Regions from separate parts of the Homo sapiens genome. Here region 1 is linked to region 2. Evidence: promoter capture Hi-C in 16 types of primary human blood cells and fetal thymus (Javierre and others, 2016). All regions are on one chromosome and are shown on one strand. Each heading gives the region's core, a stretch centred on a gene start or on the middle of the fragment in contact. The rest is flanking DNA. Distances are from core to core; before and after follow the strand shown.

The links. Contacts are between HindIII fragments. The CHiCAGO score rates a contact against its expected background, and 5 or more counts as called.
Region 1: a contact is called between the fragment with the promoter of KLF7 here and the fragment with the promoter of PIKFYVE in region 2, in 5 of 17 cell types (fetal thymus, total B cells, non-activated CD4 T cells and 2 more). The highest score is 11.3, in fetal thymus.

What each region holds. Positions count from the first base shown.
Region 1 is chr2:207,162,616-207,167,549 of GRCh38, forward strand. It overlaps KLF7 (KLF transcription factor 7), which reads right to left and starts at 3,333. Exons shown (of 4, transcript NM_003709.4): 1 at 2,852-3,333. The coding sequence starts at 2,953. MIR7845 (microRNA 7845) reads left to right here and starts at 3,785; the gene lies at 3,785-3,883. RefSeq lists enhancers at 1,635-2,343, 2,945-3,044, 3,052-3,760, 3,761-4,468, 4,469-4,934 and 1 more and silencers at 3,535-4,174, 4,795-4,844. The HindIII fragment of the contact is 8,010 bases long and covers 1-4,706 here.
Region 2 is chr2:208,263,988-208,268,487 of GRCh38, forward strand. It overlaps PIKFYVE (phosphoinositide kinase, FYVE-type zinc finger containing), which reads left to right and starts at 2,268. Exons shown (of 42, transcript NM_015040.4): 1 at 2,268-2,428. RefSeq lists an enhancer at 2,105-2,154 and a silencer at 2,285-2,554. The HindIII fragment of the contact is 8,601 bases long and covers 588-4,500 here.

The DNA.
Region 1 (4,934 bases), core at 2,083-4,582, 1.1 Mb before region 2:
CGTGACGAGAGGGAGCCCTGCCACAGTCAGTGACTTTGTCACAGGCTCACTGACTATTAAGCAGGACAATTATCCCATATCCTAAGTTTAAAATAAAATCCCCAAATTGTTTATCTTCAATTTTCAAACGTAAAAATGTTCTTGAGTTTATCATCGAAGCCACTCTTTCTCTAGAAACCAAGTCAGATTATCAGAGTCTCCACATTTTGCTCATCTCCATGAGCCCAGGTACATTGTTCACTTTAAGAAGAACATCTAATAATTACTCCTCATTTGACCTCTAAAATCTGATTACCCCAGAGCATAAAGAAACTTCTTCCTGTCTGGGGTTCTTTGCAGAAACCCTGTTGAGCTGTTTTGAGCAAAAGAGTCTCAAAATTTCATTATCCGATAGTTGATTTGGAACTAACAGTTGCATATCACCATCACCACCCCTTATACTCAGAAGCAGCAAGACGGTTTTGGGAGGGGGAAGAAGGAAGGGCTAGAGGTTAAAGGTTTTGTCATCAGTGTAAACCTATGGTCCTAGTCGCCTTTATATAGAGCAGTTGTGATTACGGAGTCCAGAACATAAAGCTCACTGGAGTGATATATTGTTTATTAGTGCTTCCCCACAAGCTATGCATCAGCATTGGCTATAAGCATGACGCTGAATAAGTTGGCTAAGGGTTTTAAGGTGAGAGTGGCTGGCAGTTGGAGAGGGTTAAGGCAAAAAATGAGGGGGTTCCGAGGGGTGAAAAATCCTTTGCCTGTAGAAACTAAACTAGAGCTTCCCTGAATGGGGAGGAGGCAGAGGAGCAGGGGGAGGAGGGGAGAAGGAAGAGCAGAGATGGCTTCTTAGGAAACAATAGATCTAATACATCCTCTAGTTGTCAAACCGATGATGTTTCTTTGCAGATCTAGAGTTTGTCCTGGATGGTCTAGCCAGATCTAGAAAAGCAGGTTTCCTGTGAAGAGACCTTCCTCCAAATCTGGCTTTACTACTCTGAAAACTTGAACCAAAACAAAGTTGCATGATTCATCAGTAGGGAACGTTCTAACAAATAAAGCCAACTTTCTTCCTTCTAACACTGCTTAACAGTTAGTCACAAACAAGGGCTGCCTTGGGCAGGCTGACTAAATCAACAGATTCCCTTCTCTAACCTGTCTAGACAGTTGTTAATATGCAACCGATTCCATACCAGTGGGCTGACAGTGTGAAATGAAGGCTATTTCAGAAGATTTTGGTTTAATTAGCATTGGAAATAAAAGGAAGAAAAAGATCCAGTGAGACCCTTCATGAGACACACTCTCGTTAAGGATAAGGAAAAGGATGCATTGAAGAAAGACTTTATTCTAAAAATATGTGAACTGTGTATGTGTTTACAGAGAGACAGAGTCAAGCATCTGCTAGCGTCCTTGGACAAGAATGCATGTGTGGACACAGAGACACCAGACGCCAATACCTGGAGGAAAACTCACAGCCTCTGACCAGAAGTGAACTAGCAACAATGGTACAGTTAAAGGATCCGCCTTGCCACTCGGCTCCTTATACCAAAAGCCAAACCTCTTTTGCTAAAGCAGAGACTGTTACATCTCAGCCTCAAGCTGGCAAATCCTGCTTTGGATCCCGGCAGAGGAAATTCAGCCGTTCATTAGCCTTAACAAGCTGCTGTCACTAAGCGAAGAAATTACACGAGCAGCCACACACCGAGCCTCTCACAGCCCTCCCCCCAAGGGCAAGCGGGTTTCTCCAGGACGGACTGTACAAGTTCACACTTCCTATGTGCAAATCCGGACTGTCTTCTTGGACTTTCCATGGTGCACACTGTACAATTTTTAAATACCCGTGTCCCCCCGCCCCCACCCACCATCTTTCCTGCAGAATGTCCCCTCAGCAGCTCCTAATCGCTGCTGAAAAAAACCACTGTTTCCGCAGCAGAGCCAGCACTTTCCACTGACCAGCACTTTCTTTATTCCACTTCACAAAGCCCAGTGAACTTGTCACCAGCCCCACTTCATCCTCCCTGGGACGGCTAGCCAACTTGGCATCGGTGCCCTTCAGCATCCTGGGAGTTTCTTAACTAGTCCTCTAAGACAAAGTCAAAGGCATGGAAGCACACATCAGCCTTTGTCCGAGGTTGTGCTGCCTAACTAGAGAAGGACCCTAAACAAAAAAGAGAAACAAGGACACGCATAGAGGGTGTTCTCTTTCTGGAGGGATCACACTGGGAAAACCTACAATTCATTGTCAGCCTCAGCTACATCTTCCCGTCCTCCTTGAGTATCTTTTGTCAGTGGGCTCTTCTCTCTTTTGCCTACCTTCTAATCTCAAAATCAAGCTCCTATTCTTTATTGACACTCGCTAATTACTGAAAAACACTCCGCTTTGCTCCTGCCCACCCTCCCCCGCCCCCCATCCGATGGTCATAAGCACCAGTTGAAACAGATGAACCTGATTTCAGGTATCAAGTGGGTAGAGCTCATGCATGCGAGAACGTGGTCCCTGTCAGCAATCGCTCCTAACACCCCAAACCACCTTCCCACCCGGCTCCTCCGAACCCCAGAAGTTCGGCAGGTCTCTGATAGGGGACAGCAAACCCGACAACGTGTGCGCAGGGATGTGTGTTGGCGACTGAAACGCAGGCAGCTCGCACCGGCTGCTCAGCTCGGCACTCTACGAGGTTAGGGGTGGGTGGAGAGGTAAGCGCAGATGACTGTTTCAGAAAACATTTTCAACAACAGACAGCCAAAAAGGAAGAAAAAAAAGTCAAACAAACAAACAAAAATTTCAACCCAGAGCCCACACCAACGCAGCCCCTGCGTCTCCGCCGCCACCACACGATTTACACAAGTAATTTAAATCATTCACCTGCTGCCAGGTCTCCTCCAGGGATGGTAAAGCTGAGAAGTAGCCGGTGTCGTGGACAAGTTGTAGCTCCTGGAATATACTATAACTAGCCAACACGTCCATGCTGCTGCTGCCGGGCAAAACGGGAGGCGAAACCCTCCCCCGAACACAGTTGGGGCTGTTTGTTTGTCAGTCTGTCTGGCTCACCCCCCAAGAAGGCAGACATCCAGTGGCCCTTTTGTTTTGTTTTGTTTCAGTCAACTAAAAAGGAAAAAAAAAAATCAATGCAGGAGAGGGAGAGAGGAGGTGAGAGAGGAGCGAGTGAGTGGGGTGGATGGAGAGAGGCATCCAGCGTGTACAGTGCAGACGACTGCCAGGAAAAGGGGACTTCTCCACGGGAGTAACAATTCCCTTCCAGGGCTCTAATCACTCCAGCTCGTGGATCAGGAAGGGGGATGCAAACTCACTGACACGAAGCTGCCATCTATTTCTGCAGCGCTGTTCGCTCCTAATGCAATCTTTGCTCTTTATTTTGGGAGGTTGCATTTTTTTCTCTCGCGATCGCTTCTCTTCCCCCCCCTTCCCTTCCCTCCCCACCCCCCACCCCATCCTTGCTAGTTTGTAGTCTTCCCCCTCCCTTTTCTCCTCCTCCTGCTCTTCCCCCTCCCCAAACTCCCTCCCTCCGTTCGGTTCTCCGCGCAGCCGTGGGATCTCGAGGAGGGCGTCCATTAGGCCGCGTGTGACCATGTAAGGTAAACAGGGGGCTCATGAAGTCACTGAGGACCAATGGGGAGCCCGGAGCAGAGCCTGGGGCGGGGCTTGGCCCTGGCGGCGGGCGCGGATTGGCACGCTGCGGATCTCCCTGCTGCCTTACAAGGCGGTGCGAGGCGAGCTATTTTTAGAGGGCTATATAAGGGGGCTGAGGCGGCCGCCCGGCGGCCGGGCAGCGCGAGCGCAAGGGACAGGGAGGGTCGTGGCGACACTCGCGCCAGCTCCCGGGACGGCTGGGCTCGGGCTGGTCGCCGACCTCCGACCCTCCACTAGATGCCTGGCAGAGCCCGGCGCGTCCGGAGCCCGCGCCCCTCAGAGGGAAGGGGTCGCGCGTCGCCGCGGCGGCCCTGAGGCTGACGGTCGGGAGGTGAAAGGCCGGAGTGCGGGGTCAGGACGCCTCCTGGAGGGGGCGCGGCGCAGGGGGCCGCGGGGAAGCCGCCGAGGGCGCGGAGCGGGAAGGAAGGACAGTGGCCACCCCGCCTCCGCCTGGGCACGGGGCAGGGACCCGCGCGAGGCGGTGCCGGGGAGGTCCTCACGTACTCAAAAACAAGCAGAAAAGGCATCCAGGGCCCCTTCCCGAACTCCCCACGGGCTGCCAGGGTGCAGAGAAGAAGCGCCTGAGGAGGAAGTGCCACACAATGGGAGAGAACAAAGGGGAGCGGAGCGAGACCGCGGCCTGCGCCCGCCCCCCGCTTGCGCACAGTCCCCGCCCCGCCCCGCGGGCGCCGCCGCCGCCGCCCTCCCTCCCGCGCCTCCTTCTGACCCCGAGCGAGAGACCTGGTCGGGAGTCCGGCGGCTAGAGTTGATTGCAAGGGGCCTGTTGCTCGACTGTGCGTTAAAGAGGCTAGAGGGAGCCTAGGTAGACGTGGGGCGCAAGCTGGAGCCGGCAGCTTGCGAGGGGGCCTTTACGTGATGAGGCTCACCATGGGGTCTCCAGCGAGGTGTCTGCAGAGCTTCGATGGTGAGAGGAGGAACTCGATTTCTCGTTTTCTGGAGTTGGGATGTAGACATAGAGAGATCTGTTACATCTGAGATGAAAACCCTGCACAATTCACGTTAGGGTTGGCCAATTGTTTGCTTGACCTTAAATGGTTAGTGTGGTTTAAGCTTCCCCAAAATGCGCTGTGAGCTGAGCTTCCACTTTTGGAATGATTGCAGAATTCGGTGCTTAAGAGATGAGAAACTTCGTTCTACCAGTAATGGAAGAAACGCTTCACCTTAATCACCCTCCTTGTCTTTCCCCTCCCTTTGACTATGTAGGACTCGATAACACAACATTTGAAAGATTCTACTCTATGAAATAAGCACAGATTGAAATTCAGTATTTGCCAAG
Region 2 (4,500 bases), core at 1,018-3,517:
ATATATATGGAATTTAAAAATGTTGAACTCATAGAAGTAGTGGGTAGAATGGTGGTTGCCAGGGGTAAGGGGTGGCGGAGAGAGAAAAAGAACAAAAAGTAAGATGTGCTCAAAAGGTAATGGAGGCATGTCAAATGGACTCAGGAGTCTGCTGGAAGGGGCTCACACCAGCCAAGGCGGGGACACCTGGAGCACAGAAATGAATAGTGGCAGTAATGAACTATAACATGTTGGAAAAAAATGAGTCCAAAGTCATACTAACCAATATAAAGAAAGAAAGAAAAAGATGGAACGCTATTAGTTGCAGTAAAATTCAACTAATACATACAGAGGAATAGAAGTATAATATCATCGAACAATAATTGATTCAGCAAGAATCCTAAATCTGTGCTTGAATGAAAGTTTTTGAGGAGGATATATACACAGACAAATAATCTCTCTACAGATAAAATTCATCTGGAATTAATTTTGGATGTCTAGTGTGAAGTGAGAATCTAAAATGATTTCTTTTGCAAAAACAGTAGCCCAGTTTTCAATCTCTTTTCCACAGAAATTAAACTGTAAGCTAATATAGATATTAGACGGTAAGCTTCTTGAGGACATGGACTGTGTAATGTTCACATATATTTTTATTTTTTAGGCTAGTCAAGTGAAGCAGTGGGATACGTTCATAATTCTATCCTTAGTGTAGTGCTTCTATAACTAACACACTGCAGGTTAAATTAGGGACTCAAAAATATTTGCGGAGTGCACTTTTTTTTTTTTTTTTTAAACCATAGATGGAGTTTCTACATACACTGCAGTCGTCGTGGCTGGGCAATTTATTCTTTTCATATGATCTCTGTACCTATTTCATACTTTATTGTAGGTTTATGAAATATTAACATAGGGTGATAATTACGAGGGCCTTTTTTGCTTATCTTAAATTTTTAAAAAAAATTTTTTTAAAGGAAGGCAGAGACTTGAGCATCTTTATGGGCTGAGGAGGCAGAGTCATTGGAAAAGGGGAGGTTGCAGATACGGTGCAAGCTCCCAGACAGGAGAGGGTGAATTGGGGGCCAAAAGGATTGAGCTGGGGAAGAAGAGGCCCCTTCCTCAGAGAGATGAGGGAGAAAGGCAGACCAGGGCAGATGTGGATGTAGGTAAATGTTGTGGTGTGTGGGGAATTAGCTTGTTAAGGGTCACGCCCAGATACCTTGGGATTTTTCACGTGGGTATAAAATATGATTCTCTGATGAGAATGATGGTCAAGGTAATGTGGGGGTCGTGGTGGTGGTCTGACGCAGCAGTAATAAGGAATGGGAGAAGCTGACTACAGACTCCCAGAAAGATTGCTGAAGGGCCCAGCTGAGGATGGTGACTGGGATTTGCACTGGACTCAACCTGCAGGTTTCGATGGTGCTTTCCAACTCCAGGAAAACTGGGCTGGGATTTGACAAAACTCTTGAGGAAAAGGACTCACAGAATTTAAAACTGCATTTCCCTTTAGGTTTCGTCTGCTTTCCATCCTCCCCTACCAAGCCCCACAACTGCGGCGAGCATGTTTTCTGCAGTTAACTGCACTGCGCTCTCAGCAGGACAGAAATGACGAATAACTCTAGCCAAGCTGAACAAGATAGGGCTTGGGCTTGGTAACTTTATTTGCATCAGCATTTGCAACACAACACCTAAATGAAAAAATTAACTATAAAGCCGACATCACTTACTCTGGGTCAGGGAACTGTGCCATTCGCTTTAAGTGCATTTACTTAATCTCAAAAAAGTATTAAGAAGTGAGTCCTTTTATTAATCCGACTTTACACACCAGAGGTCTAAGGCCTAAATAAATGAGCAATTTGCTTAAGATCATATGGCTGGTTATTGGTGGAGTCATGCAAGTCTGGAAACAGAGTCATCGCTAACTCCGGTTCAGTGCTACACGAGTGAACTGTCTACAACAAAGCAATAACATATTATGAGTGCCCACAGTATCGAACACATACGGTAACCGCAGTCCAGCCAGCACCCCTGCAGTGCCCAGAGCACCAAGCACCCATCCGTTGACCCCGCATGCGTGACGCTCACGCGCGCAGTCCCCCTGGCTTCTTCCAGGAAGGCTGAAGCGGCCTAATCTCGGCCAAAAGATCAGGACGACTCGATCTGGGCTGGACTCCTTCTGCCTGAGCATCTGATCCGAGCGTCGGCCGGGCTGGGAGGAGCCGGCCCCCGGGAAAGATTTCGGACTGGGGGACAGGAAAACAGAGGGCGGAGTCTTGGGGGGGGGAAGCGAGAAGCCGCATCAACCATGTAAGCAGCTTCGCTTCCTGCCGCAACCGTCCGCGGCCTGAGGAGCCCACCGCCGCTCTCGGGGGCCGACTTCCGGGGGCTGAGCCGTTGAAGCGGAGGCTGGGGCGGGGGGCAGCCGGCGCGGCCGGGGCAGGAGGCGCAGGTAAGGGAGGGGGCCTGGAGCTTGGCCGGCTGGGGCTCAGCATGGGAAGGAGGCCGGTATGGGGAGCTCCAGGGCCAGAGCTGAGGTGAAAGTGAGAACCAGGGCTCCGCAGTCGGGGGCTAGGGCCTGGCTGCCGGCTGAGCAAGGAAGGGCAGAGAATCTGGCTTTAGAATTAGCTTGTCCTCCCTATTCCCCGGCTGCCTTGTCTGGCGAGTGGGGACGGAAGCCGGGTGGGGCCCTTGAGATTTCCTTGGAAACATTTGAAGTTCCTTTGCCTCTCTCTCGACCCTTACGCCTGAACTTAATTAGGAGGGGAAGAGTACAGTTACTTTTCCCTCTGAGTGCATGAGTTCTGAGTTTGTCAGAGGCGCATCCGTAGGCTGGAAAAGAAAGTTCATGAGCTGCAGAAACGATACCAACCGTGGGGGTTCAAATAAGTGTTTGTCTTTTTAAATGCTTGCCTCTGCTATTTGAGACGATTCCATTTCAACTTAGGTTTTGGAGTTTCTTGAGGAGGAGCATTATTTCCCAATTAGTGTTTACCCTTTGCTTAGAATGTTCCCAACAAAAGGATGAGAATGGAATGTGTTGGAAACTTTTAGGACTTAGGGGTTTTCTGCCCAATCAGAGGTTATTCCTAAGACAGTCAAGAAATATAAGAAGTGCTAGAATTCTGTATAAAGCAAGTTATTCGTGTGTATCTGATGTGTATACATGATTCATTATCTACTATTGACGCAGTGCATCCTGTGTTGTAAAATATGTCCAGTGTTGACAATAGAGGTAGTCGCTTGGTATAATGTACTTATTTCTGATTTATTTGAGCCCCTTTTTTGGCACTCCAAAACTCCCACTCTGTCAGTTTTCTTACAAAAAATGTTCTTTCTTTTGTGTTTGTGACAAAGATTGTGTAGGTTAAATCTCTTCTGTGGAGCAAGGCTAATTTCCTGTGTTCTCCCTTTTTCTGCTTTCTGGATCCTGCTCTGGTTTTCCTTTAAGCGTGTTGGTCAAAAATTGAACAAGAAATCTTTGTTGATAGAAGCTAACATTTCCAATATTCAGCTTTCCTAAATTATTACATTGCCAGTTTTTTTTTTTTTTTTTTTTGAGAGACAGAGTCTCGCTCTGTCCCCCAGGTTGGAGTGCAGTGGCGCGATCTCCTCCGACTGCAACCTCCGCCTCCCAGGGTTCAGGCGATTCTCCTGCCTCAGCCTCCTGAGTAGCTAGATTGCAGGCGCGCGACACCACACTCGGCTAATTTTTGTATTTTTAGGGGAGACGGGGTTTCACCATGTTAGCGAAGCTGGTTTTGAATTCCTGACCTCAGGCGATTCACCCGCCTCGGCCTCCCAAGGTGCTGGGATTACAGGCGTGAGCCACCGGGCGGGGGTCTCCCTCCCTCGCCCAGGCTGGAGTGAAGTGGTGTGATCTCGGCTTACTGCAGTCTCCGCCTCCCAGGCTCAAGGGATTCTCCTGCCTCGGCCTCCCAAAGTGCTGGGATCACAGGTGTGAGCAGCCACGTCCGGCCTTTACTGACTGGCTTCTGATAGTTTGTAGTAGGTCTGCATATATTAGTAGCCTTAATTAGAAATGGTGAAGTATTGGTGATATATCAGAAGGCTTTGGGTAGGTAGGTTAATAGGACTGATTACCACTCAGGAAAGAGTCCTAATTTATATTTTAAAGCGTTGTTAAGCTGCTAAAGAGTGAGAGTTATAAGATAATTTTTTCAGGGCCCTAGTGTCATTATGTAATTATTAGGGTTAACTATATGATTGGGTTTATATTTCAGAGACTACACTTGCTAAGTGTTTTCATGGGAATTTTTATCTTCTTATTTCCAAAGCCGAGTATAATTTTTGTGTAGATAACCTTTAGAAGTAATTCTAAGACTCTTTAGGCAGAATGTCATCTCTGCCTCTGACATTACTTGTGTCAAAGTAGAATGTAGGCTGTTTTCCAGGGGTGGTTGTTACGGCCATCACATTATCGTTTCTCTCCAGAGCTCTTTTTTTTTTTTTTTTTTTTTTCCCTAAATAAAATAGAGATGAAGTCTCGCTATGTTGACTAGG